2 separate regions of the Homo sapiens genome follow, and region 1 is linked to region 2. Evidence: promoter capture Hi-C in 16 types of primary human blood cells and fetal thymus (Javierre and others, 2016). All regions are on one chromosome and are shown on one strand. The core of a region is centred on a gene start or on the middle of the fragment in contact, and the rest is flanking DNA. Distances in the headings are between cores, read along the strand shown. Region 1 holds the start of ATPAF2 (ATP synthase mitochondrial F1 complex assembly factor 2). Region 2 holds the start of COPS3 (COP9 signalosome subunit 3).

Region 1 (6,205 bases), core at 1,129-3,628, 760 kb after region 2:
CACCTCAGTGACCCTTTCGTAAACTCCTCCTCTCCTTCTGATAACCTTCAATGGCATGGCCATTCCTAAGTGGCCAAGTTCAATCAGCTTGCTGACTGAAGTGTTCATTGAGAAGAACCCACTGCGGTTTAATCTTCTACTACTTCAAATACGCACAAATATCTCACAACTGGTAAGGTCTTTAGAGAGAACACGTGGGGGTCGGGGGCCGGGCGCGGTGGCTCATGCCTGTAATCCCAGCACTCTGGAAGGCTGAGGAGGGTGGATCATGAGGTCAGGAGATCGAGACCATCCAGACTAACATGGTGAAACTCCGTCTCTACTGACAATACAAAAAAATTAGCCAGGTGTGGTGGTGGGCACCTGTAGTCCCAGCTACTCGGGACGCTGAGGCAGGAGAATGGCGTGAACCCGGGAGGCGGAGCTTACAGTGAGCCAAGATTGCGCCACTGCACTCCAGCCTGGGTGACAGTGCAAGACTCTGTCTCAAAAAAAAAAAAAAGCATGCATGGGCCTGATTTATGCACCTCCCTTCTCATTCATTCATTCCTATTTTCTTTCACATTTGACTACCTACCATGTGCCAGGTACTTCCAAGAGCCTAACTAGTAAGTTTAGGCTTTTTAAAAAGGAAAAGAAGGCAGTAGATCAAGTGCCACCATTATGTAAAGTGAGCATCCACAAATCTAAATTAACCCTTTGTGGTCAGGCATGGTGGCTCACGCCTGTAATCCCAGCATTTGGGAGGCTGAGGCGGGAGGATCACCTGAGGTCAGGAGTTCATGACCAGTGTGGCCAACATGGTGAAACCCCATCTCTACTAAAAATACAAAATTAGCCACGTGTGGTGGCGGACACCTGTAATCCCAGCTACTTGGGAGGCTGAGGCAGGAGAATTGCTTGAATCTGGGAGGTAGAGGTTGCAGTGAGCCAAGATCACACCATTGCATGCCAGCCTGGGTGACAAGTGTAAAACTCCATCTCAAAATAAATAAATAAATACGTAAATAAATAAATTAATTAACCCTTTGCTTTTTGCCAACTTGGTGAACTCCTGAATGTGTCCCCTTTGCTATGCCTCCCTGGGATGCCCTTCCTTTCTCTTCTTTACTGGCCCTTCATGGCCCATTTCCAGGCCCTTCCCCTGAGTCCTGCAGGTGAAACTTCAGCTCCCTGCTGCATCCAGCCCCCTTCCCCATTTCTATAAAGTTATAGAACTTGGCTGGGCGCGGTGGCTCACGCCTGTAATCCCAGCACTTTGGGAGGCCGAGGTGGGCGGGTCACAAAGTCAGGAGTTCGAGACCAGCCTAGTCAATATAAACCCCATCTCTACTAAAAATACAAAAATTAGCAGGGCATGGTGGCAGACGCCTGTAGTCCCACCTACTTGGGAGGCTGAGACCACAAAATCGCTTGAATCTGGGAGGCGGAGGTTGCAGTGAGCCGAGATGGTGCCACTGCACTCCAGCCTCTGTGACAGAGGAGACTCCGTCTCAAAAAAACACAAAAAAACAGAAGAAGAAGAAAAAAAAAGAACTTGACAGCCAGAAAGATCCTCAAAGGCAACCTAGTACTTCAACGCATGGAGAAAAATGAGGAAGTAGTTGCATGCCCAAGATCACACAGACCTCAGAGGTTCAGCCAGCATCAGATCCTAGATTTGCACTCCTGCCACAATGCCAAACTGCCTGTGAAGTTCTGGATTTTCTAAAACAGGCAGTGTCAGGGAAAAGTCCCTCATACCTTGCTGTCACCCTGGACACGTTCTAGATACCCAACACTCTCCCACCTTTTTGCTGAACTCCTACTCATCTATCATGGCTCAGCTTAAACAAACGCCCTTTCACCCAAGACCCATTCTAAACCCTGAACATCCCCAAGATGGGAGTAAGCGATTCTCTGTGTTCTCACAGTTTCTTTGTATGTCCCTTATCAGGATATTATAAACCACAATTTAATCAGAATATTATAACCTTTTGCAATGAACAGTGAACATCATTCAGGTGGGCCTTTTTCTTCTTTAATTGAGCTTCTCTACCAATACATACAGGTGGGTCTTAAAGACAACCGTGCCTCCTGCCTCCAGCACAATAAAACTAATTGAATGGTGGGAGGGTGTTACTGCTCTTCATTCACTGAAATGAGTCATTCTCACTCTTACCCTGACACCACTCACCATCAGCAATGAAAGAGCCACTACTTCTAAGCTTCATCAGAGTTGGAGGTGGAGGTGACTCCACAGTCAGAGGTGGAGGTGTCAATTTCTATTTAGGAGAGAAGGCTGCAGATGGCAGAGGTTGTGGTAGGAGGGAAAGTCAGGAAACCTGCAGCAGAAGTGCCCGGGATGGAGGAATGAAGGCCCAGGTTCTAGGTCCCTTCTGGGCAGGTCTTGTGTTGGGCAGTGGAGACACGGAAAACAGTCAGACAGACACCACAAACCTCTGAGAGAGTCTGCCTGTAACCCAGACGAAGTCCTGATTCAGAGCCCAAACTTCCCCTTTTGAAAACAAAGATGACACCTGCTTTCCTTATTAAAGGGAGGGCAGCCATAAGCTTTGAGAAAACCTGCACAGGCCAAATATCAATTACTGTATCGTGCGTGACTCGCTGTTCCCTCTCGGGTCGTCTGCCCTTGTCTGGGCTTCACTTTCTCATCTGTAAAAAGACCTGACTGGCCTGCATAACCTCATGAGCCTGAACCCTGCCTCAGTTACTTCGCTTTGCACAGCCGAAGCCCGAAGCCCACCTTACCCCAGCTCGGCCCCAACCCAAAAGAACATGTCATGGTCTTACCTGTCGGCGGGGCGTAAGCCCGGGCTGGAGACGGGATGGTTGGCCCCGGACTCATAGAAGCGCTGGGGCCACCCGCCGGCCGATTCAGGAGACGGCGTCCCCCGTCCCGCAGCCGGAGGCAGCTCCTCCACATCGCGCCCGAGGGTCTGGGAAGATGCGAGACGCGAAACCTGGAGCAGGAAACACAGAGCGATGGGATCCCCAAAGCCGCACGGTCGGGCTGTACGGAAACCTCTCAACGCCTCCTCAGAGCCCTCAACCTCCCTTGGACGCCGCCATCTTCCGCATGACACCTACGGCGCGCCGTCGCCGCCGCGCGCCTCCTGCGCACACCCCCAGTCAATCAGCATCACAAACGCACCTCGCCCCGCCCCCTCCACGCCGCGCCTCGGCGAGGAGACTACAAGTCCCAGCGGGCCGCTCGCGCACCGCGCCACGTGTTTTCTCCTCCCGCCAATGGGCGGAAGCGCCGCCTGAGCCTGCTCCCGCCCCCCAGGCTCGCCTGAGCCAATCGGAAGGGGCGGGGTGTGTGTGTGTCTGTGTGTGTTTGTGTGTTGTGTGTCTGTGAGTGTCTGTGTGTGTGTATGTGTGCGCGAGGGCAAGTCGGGAGGGGGACCCAGCTCAGGACTGGGAGGCCCTGCTCGCAGGTCCCTGGGTCCCGGTGGCGGCCGGAGCGCTTGCTCCGCAGGCAGCGGGCGGGTGGTCGCCCCTCCCGCCCCCACCCCGCGCGTGCGCGCCCCGGCCTCTCCCTCCCCGCCACCCTCCTCGGCTCCCGCGCGGCGGCGGCGGTTCCTCTCCCACTCCCCCCAGCCCTGGCTCCGGGGGACCCCGCGATGCCGGTCCGCACCGAGTGTCCCCCGCCGGCCGGTGCCTCCGCTGCCTCCGCGGCCTCACTCATCCCGCCGCCGCCCATCAACACCCAGCAGCCCGGCGTGGCCACCAGCCTGCTCTACAGCGGCTCCAAGTTCCGCGGCCACCAGAAGAGCAAGGGGAACTCGTACGACGTAGAGGTGGTGCTGCAGGTGAGCGCCGGGCCGGGCCGGGGCCCGAGGGCCTCCTCGCGGCGCTCACGGGCCGTGCCCGCTTCGGCTCCTCGACCCCGCAGCCGCGGAACAGGCCCTCGCCGCCGGGGCCTCCTGCACCCGGCGCTTCCCACCCGGGACCTTCCCAGCCTGTGTCTCACACTCTCCGAGCCCCAGCCCTGACCTGCCCCTTCGGACCCAGAGCCCGTCGTGACCGGCTCCTGGCGGACCCCGAACACTCCCAGACTTGAAGCCCGTGACCGGCCCGTCTGGGATCCGGAAGCCCCTCATGACTCGGAGAAGGCCTGGGTCCTTCCTCCCCATGACCTGTCGTCCCTAGATCAGGGACTGCCACCAGCCCTTTTCAGACCCTGAAGAACTCTCCATTGGTTTCACCAGACTTGGGACCCTCCCCATGTCTGGGCCCACGTCAGATTCTCTCAGACCTGAGACATGTCCTCCTGCCCCTTCCTCAGTTCCAGGAATCCGCAGACCTTGGGGTCTTCCTCCTCCTGAGATCTCCTTAGGAGGGCTTCATCAGACCCCCAGACGGGGGAGCACCTAACCCGCAACTGATTGGTCAGGCCCTGGCCTCACCTCAAGACCAGGCACTCACTCCCTGAGTGCTGCTCACAGTCTGTTGGGATGTTGCCTCCTGGGTCCCCTGTTCCACTCACTGCTTCTGTCTCTTCATGGTCCAGGCACCCAGCTCCTTCCAGCTTCTCCACCCCCAGGCCTCCTGCCCCTGCTCTGGGACCATTTGCAGTCTTTTCCCAGTCTTCCTGGCCTCTATCCAGACTTCCCCACCCCATACCTTCGTCTTGCTCGATCCTGGTTCCAGGGGACCCTCTTTCCTGTTCTTAACTTTTCTCTACACAGGCACAGGGCTTCCTCTTAGTCTCTGGTACCCATGTACTGGGAAATCTAACTCACCCAATTTTAGTTCATGTCCAGTCGCCTCCCCCCATTTGACCTGGATTCCTGAATACCTGCTGCCAGTCCCTGATCAGCTTCGGAAGTACAGCTTCACTTGTCTGGGCCTTTCCCACACCTCACTCCTCTCAGGCTTGACACTTTTTGCCAGCTGAAATGGAGTGGCAGTGGTGAATACTCTTTTATCTCCCCTCCCCACAAAACTCTTCCTCCTCTATACCTACCCCTGCCTGACTAAGGACCCCTTTCCCCTTCCCTTTGCCCTTTTTTTCCTTAGTCTGACACCTCATCTGCCAGGCTGTTCCCAGAAGCCCCTCCAAACACCTGTCCCTCTGAAAGGCACTGTGTGCTGCCCCACTGCCTCCCCCCCGCCCCACCCCCCGGGGTGTGAGGGTGGAATGTACAGTATATTTATTCCTCAAGCTCTCCTTTTGGTCATTTAAAACAAATCTTAGTTTCACTTCTGAAGAGTAGGTCTCCCATCCAAAAGACAATGAGGGTGCCTTTTCTTTCTGCTAACTGCGGAGCACTCATCACTCTTTTATTCTCATACTGCTTTGTGGGAATAAATCATTTTCTCTGCTTACTTGAAACAGCATCGTCATGTTAATCATATCTTTGGGCTGTAAAGTTCTATCATGAGCCACGATAGTTATTATAATGGAAATACGATTGTGGCTGAAATATTTTTGTCTTCATAACTGTATGCCTAATGTAGTGATCCTCTTCTTAAAATGTGAGAGTCGAGTATGAAGGTACAGGGGTTTTTCGGTTTGTTTTGCACCTAGTCATAGAATTCTGGAGGTGAGATCCCTGGGTGGGTCACGTTTGGGATGATCTTGGATTTGTCCCTGTTGTTCAGTTTGATGGTTTCTGATGTAGTAGGGGACAATTGGCAAGATAGCCAGGCGTCAAAGGGGAGTCTGCTTTGGCTACTGCAGCAACTGCTGCTCCCTTCTGTCATTAGGGTATCACTTCTGAGCTCCTTTCAGAAGGAGAATCATGAACCAGGGGAAGCAGTGGTTGAGTTGGGGCAGGGCTGATAGGTCTCAGGCAGCCCAGAGCAGAAACCTGGTGGATGGCTGGGAGCCACTTGAGTAAGATGTCTGATGGTGGGGGTGGTGGTCATGCCAATGAATGCTGCCCTACATCTGGATTGGTGAGCTGCTTGGTCATCATCACGACTAGTCAGTGGCATGTGAATTGCCCCATCATCTGGTTTTTCAGCCAGGACTAGTTTGTCAGACACAGCCTTCTTAGACTTAAAATACTTCTGCCTTTTATAACTCAGCTTCTTTTTGTTTGTTTTGTTTTGTTTTCTTTCTTTCTTTTTGTATCTTTATTTAGATAGAATTCACTTATTTAAGGTGTACAATTCAATAGTTTTTAGTATATTCACAGTTGTTTAACCACCACCACAACCTAATTTTAGAATATTTTCATCACCCCAAAAGGAA
Region 2 (5,732 bases), core at 2,730-5,229:
AGTGGTTAGGTATTTCAGTAAACTCAGGTGGAGGGATTGTCCCTTTCTCCAGCTCTAGAATACATCACCTGCTTAGCAGTTCATCAAGCAGCTACTTGTTGAATTAATCTCCTAATTGATCTATTTTTCCCCTATACTGCAATACTATGTTTGTTTTGTTTTGTTTTTTGAGACAGGGTCTCATTCTGTCGCTCAGGCTGCAGTGCAGTGGTGTGATCACAGCTCAACGCAGCCTCCATCTCCTGGGCTCAAGCAATCCTCCCACCTTAGCCTCCCGAGTAGCTGGAACTACAGGTGTACGTCACCATGCCCATCTTATTTTTTAAGTTTTTTGCAGAGACAGGGGTCTCACTATGTTGCCCAGTCTGGTCTCTAACTCCTGGGCTCAAGCAATCCTCCCACCTTGGCCTCCCAAAGTGCTGGGATTAGAGGCATGAGCCACCACACTCAGCCTGCAATGCTACATTTTAACAACTAAGGTACAGAATCTATTAATAATTAGGCCTCAGCCGGGTGCTGTGGCTCACACCTGTAATCCCAGCACTTTGGGAGGATAAGGTGGGCAGATCTCTCGAGGTCAGGAGTTCAAGACCAGGCTGGCTCACACCTGTAATCCCAGCACTTTGGGAGGATAAGGTGGGCAGATATCTCGAGGTCAGGAGTTCAAGACCAGGCTGGCCAACATGGTGAAACCCTGTCTCCACTAAAAATACAAAAATTAGCTGGGTGTGGTGGCACACACCTGTAATCCCAGCTACTCGGGAGGCTGAGGTGGGAGAATCCTTTAACCTGGGACAATCCTTGAACCCGGGAGATGGAGGCTGCAGTGAGCTGAGATTGCGCCACTGTACTCCAGCCTGGGCAACAGAGCAAGACTCCGTTTCGGGGGAAAAAAAAAATTAGGCCTGAATTGGTACCTTTAAGTAGACCCATCAATTTTGACAATTACTGTCATGACAGATACCATGGTCACACTCTGTCTTTCTGGTAACAGTGAGGATATATTTAAGTCCATGGGCATTAACCTCAAGTTTCCAACTTCTCTATTTCTACAGAGCAACTGCATAATCTTTTCCTTACTAAAAGAATACAACATAGTATAATGCTTAAAATACAAGTGACTATAGCTAGGTACTTTTGATAATTTAACACTTTTCAATTTGATACATTTTACTGAAAGCAAAGGAAATGTATCATTATTATACATGCATTACAAAACAAGAATAAAACAGCTGTGATCTTATTAGGTGTCACCTCTTGAGATCACACAGATTTAACTGGGAAATACCAACTCATCATCATTGTATTACAGATCTCACTGGTAGGTATGAAGTAACTTCTAGTTGAATAATTTGCCTTTGTAAACCATTACTCTAAATATATTAACAATAATTTGTAACACCCAGAAATAAGCATTGCAATCCATTAGTTCTCTACTAGTTAACAATCAGTGCCCAGTTGAGACTGAAATAAAAGCTGGGTCACTATGAAATCACCAGATAATTAATTAGTGCAGGGCCAAGGGCAGAGTAAAAAAAAAAAGTTTAAGTGTCACAGAGTGCATTTGAAATCAGTGTAACCAGAGATGTGGCCAATAAAATTCTTTTTTTTCTTTTTTTTTTTTTTGAGACGGAGTCTTGCTCTGTCACCCAGACTGGAGGGCAGTGGCGCGATCTTGGCTCACTGCAAGCTCCACCTCCCAGGTTCATGCCATTCTCCTGCCTCAGCCTCCCGAGTAGCTGAGATTACAGGCGCCCGCCACCATGCCTGGCTAATTTTGCATTTTTAGTAGAGACAGGGTTTCACCATGTTGGCCAGGGTGGTCTTGAACTCCTGACCTCAGATGATCCGCCCGCCTCGGCCTCCCAAAGTGCTGGAATTACAGGAGTGAGCCACTGCGCCTGGCCTGAAACTCAAAGATTTCCTATCCAGTGAGTGTGAGGCACAGTAGCCGACAGCAATGAAAGTTACCATATTTATCTCTGTCTAGCAGACTGTTCCTATAGCATCCTATAACCTGAAGACCACAACAGCCCTAGTTCTGTTTTGTAATTAAGAAAATTGGCCCAGGGAAATTAAGTGGTTCACCCAAGAAGTGACCGCGACAGGATTTCAACCTGAAGCTTCTAACTACACTACACCCCAGGAAGGAGAACACTAAGTATTTGTCGAATAAATTAACAAACCAGTGGTTCCTTTATTCATAGAAAAGGCAAGCCTGTGCCTTCCCTGTGAACCTCATTTCTATTAATAAAAAGGAAAAAGAGGAAGAATTCTTATTAAGTGCAGCTCCATATCAGACCATTTGTCTTACACCAGTGAGGTAAAAGCACCCCTCCATTTTTACAATGGAGATGCAAAAGACTCAGAGATTAAAGGTTATTTGTCCAAGGTCAAGCAGCTCCTAGAACTTTGCAATTAATGACGGTAACAATAATTTGCAGCTATATTTATTGCACCCCTTATGACAGGCACTGTTCCAACTGCTTTTACATGGTTTCTCTCATTGAATCTTCACAACTCTACATAAACTAGGGACTTATTTTGCAGACGAAGAAACTGAAGCACGGGATAGTTAAAAGGGCCTTCACAGCCAGCATCTAATCATTCGAATTTCAGGTCCAGAATTCGGTACATTCATACGCAATGAATGAACCAAACAACCTGGAAAGTGCGAGTAAAATCATCACAATTCTACCCCTAGAAATGGAGTCCTGGCCGGGCGCAGTGGCTCACGCCTGTAATCCTAGCACTTTGGGAGGCCGAGGTGGGCGGATCACTTCAGGTGAGGAGTTCGAAACCAGCTTGGCCAACATGGTAAAAACCCCATCTCTATTAAAAATACGAAAAAATTAGCCGCGTGGGCTGGCCGCGGTGGCTCATGCCTGTAATCCCAGCACTTTGGGAGGCCGAGGCCAGTGGATCACCTGAGATCAAGGTTCGAGACCAGCCAGGCCAACATGGTGAAACCCTGTCTCTACTAAAAATACAAAAATTAGCCGGGCAGGCGCCTGTAATCCCAGCTACTCGGGAGGCTGAGACAGGAGAATCGCTTGAACCTCGAAGGCGAAGGTTGAGGTGAGCCGAGACCGCGCCACTGCACTCCAGCCTGGGAGACAGTGAGACTCCGTCTCAAAAAAAAAAAAAGCCGTGTGAGCTGGCGGGCGCCTGTAATCTCAGCTACTCGGGAGGCTGAGACAGGAGAATCGCTTGAAGCCGGGAGGCTGAGGTTGCAGTGAGCCGAGATCGCGCCACTGCACTCCAGCCTCGGCTAAAAAAAAACAAAGAAGAAGAAATGGAGTCCTACGAGCGAGAGCTTCCGCAGCATTCTGTAGGACCAAAATAGGCGCACAGGTTCCCGAGCGTGCGCCGCCTGGCAGCGGAGGAGCTGGCAGAGGCGAGCCATAGAGCCAAGACACCCAGAACGGACTCGCCTCCCGCCCGCTCCCGGCGGCCTAGTCAGCAAGCTGCGGATCGGCGGCAAAGATGACATGGCGGTGCGCCAATCACCGAAGGCAAGAGAGACAGAAGGAACCAATAGTCGCCCGAGATGGCTCCTGGCGGAAGTCACGCCCCCAAACTGTCAAGCAAAGCGCCCGGTGGAAGGGGCCCAGGCCGGGGGGAGGGGGCTCCCGGCGGCCCGAGGGAGGGGAGGCCGGCCGGCGAGGACAGCGGAGCGCGAGGGGGCTGCCTACACTCGGCCGCGCTCGATCCTGCCCTGATCTAAACGCCGCAACCCCAAGCCCGGCCCCGGAGAAGAGTCTCAGGACTAAAAGGGCTGTTCCAGCCGTCCGTGCTGGCGCCTGGGGATCCAGGCCAGTTCCCGGTACCCGCCCATGCCCAGCCCGGCGGCCTAGGGCGTTACCTTGAGCTGAGAGCTGTCGGACACTGTTCACGAACTGCTCCAGGGCAGACGCCATGTTTTCCCCCGGGCGGCCCGAGCGGCGAAGGCAGCACGCGCGGGAAAAGGCTGCCGCTCTGGGAGGAGGGGCCGCGGCGATCCACCTGAGGTCCTCGCGAGCGGCGACGTCACTTCCGCTGGTTCAAGCACCGCGAGACTATACCTAGCTGCCCACCCGTTACTGTTTCCATGGAAACAGCCTGAATTCGCCGTAGCCGGAAATTAGTGTTCCATAGTCCCCTGCATCTTTATTCACTGCACTTCTGAAATCCCTCCGCAGGTTAAATGGGGATAGTGGGCAAAAGAAGGAAGGAAACTCATAATTAAGCAAGTATTTTCTGGTTCTGGATTTTGCTAGAGAGGCCCTGCGGTTTTCCACCTGGACAGATACTTCAATGAAGCACAACTTCGTTGCCACGTCTCCCGTGAGGTTTTCCCCGTGATATTAGACTCTGGAGCCAAGCAGCCTGGGTTCAACTGCCTTTTCTACCACTTAGTAGCTGTGTGACGTTGAGCGGGTCACTTGACTGTCGTGTGCATTGTTTTCCCCATCTGTAAAATCTTAGTGTCCTTAACCACGTAAAACACTTAGGACAGTGCATAGGACGTAGGGAGAACTATAGTTATTCATTCAAGGTGTACGTTGAATGAATCGATCCCTTCCCTGCAAAAAATAAATAAATAAGTAACACCACACACAGAAAGTGAATTGATTTTTCCCATCTGGGATTGATGTCTCCCTCCTCCGCTTGTCGCCTAAAGCACTTTGTTCTTCTCATGTTGCACTTCTACTCTGTTACAGAAATGTGTCTCTATAGTCCATGTGATATCTGTAAACCAAAAATAAAAGTCTAAGCCCCCCAACTGACTGGTGGACCCTATCTGAAGCCAAGGACATTCCAATTTATCCTGAAAAACTAGTTCAGGCCATGATGGGAAGTGGTAGTCAGACATGCCTCACAAACATCAACACAGAGACCTTAAGACTGGTAGACTCAAGACTGATAAGAAATATTTACAATCTATTCTGTCTGAATAGCAGGCTACCTGGAAGCCTCATCTGCATGATAAAACCTTGGTCTCCACAACCCCTTATAATCATAACCCAGATATTTCTTTCTATTTACTTCCAGGTCTTTAGATAATAACTCTTTCAACCAATTACCAATCAAAAAATCTTTAAGTCTACCTATAAGGTAGAAGCCCCCCACTGCCCCGAGTTAGCCCGTCTTTCCGATCCTAACCAACGTACATCTTACATGTATTGATCGATGACTCATGTCTCCCTAAAATGTATAAAACCAAACTGTACCCGCACCTTGGGCACATGTCCTGAGGAGCTCCTGAGGCCGTGTTATCATCGCATCCTTCACCTTGGCAATATAAACTTTCTCGATTGAGACTGGTCTCAGATACTTTTGGTTTACGGATCCATTGCTTCTAACTGGCATGGAGTTCCTTAAGGTCAAGCATTTCTCTTACTAACCTTGGTTCCCCTTTAGGGCCCAGCATAGGATTTGCTGCATAGTAGGGACTGAGAAAATAAACATGCATTTTAAAATTTTATCCAACATATGTTTACTGACACTTACAATGTGTTGTACCAGGCACTAGAAATACAGTGGTAGTAAAAACAGTCTTGGGGCCTGGTGCAGTCTCTCACGCTTGTAATCCAGCACTTTGGGAGACTGAAGCAAGTGGATCACTTGAGGTCAGGGGTTGGACACCAGCCTGGCCAACATGGTGAAAAGCCATCTCTACTAAAAATACTACAAAAATTAGCTGGGCTTGGTGATGGGTACCTGTAGTCCCAACTACTCGGGAGGCTGAG

What was found. The method cuts DNA at HindIII sites, captures the fragments that hold promoters and counts their contacts. A CHiCAGO score of 5 or more calls a contact.
Region 1: a contact is called between a fragment that was not itself captured here and the fragment with the promoter of COPS3 in region 2, in 1 of 17 cell types (fetal thymus). The highest score is 5.7, in fetal thymus.

What each region holds. Positions count from the first base shown.
Region 1 is chr17:18,036,088-18,042,292 of GRCh38, forward strand. ATPAF2 (ATP synthase mitochondrial F1 complex assembly factor 2) reads right to left here and starts at 3,081. Exons shown (of 8, transcript NM_145691.4): 1 at 2,794-3,081. The coding sequence starts at 2,926. GID4 (GID complex subunit 4 homolog) reads left to right here and starts at 3,321. Exons shown (of 6, transcript NM_024052.5): 1 at 3,321-3,815. The coding sequence starts at 3,378. RefSeq lists enhancers at 2,740-2,809, 2,820-2,869, 3,010-3,119, 4,270-4,329 and silencers at 3,230-3,319, 3,330-3,919. The HindIII fragment of the contact is 346 bases long and covers 2,206-2,551 here.
Region 2 is chr17:17,277,267-17,282,998 of GRCh38, forward strand. It overlaps COPS3 (COP9 signalosome subunit 3), which reads right to left and starts at 3,980. Exons shown (of 12, transcript NM_003653.4): 1 at 3,866-3,980. The coding sequence starts at 3,920. RefSeq lists enhancers at 3,368-3,427, 4,078-4,177 and a silencer at 3,618-3,857. The HindIII fragment of the contact is 7,073 bases long and covers 2,122-5,732 here.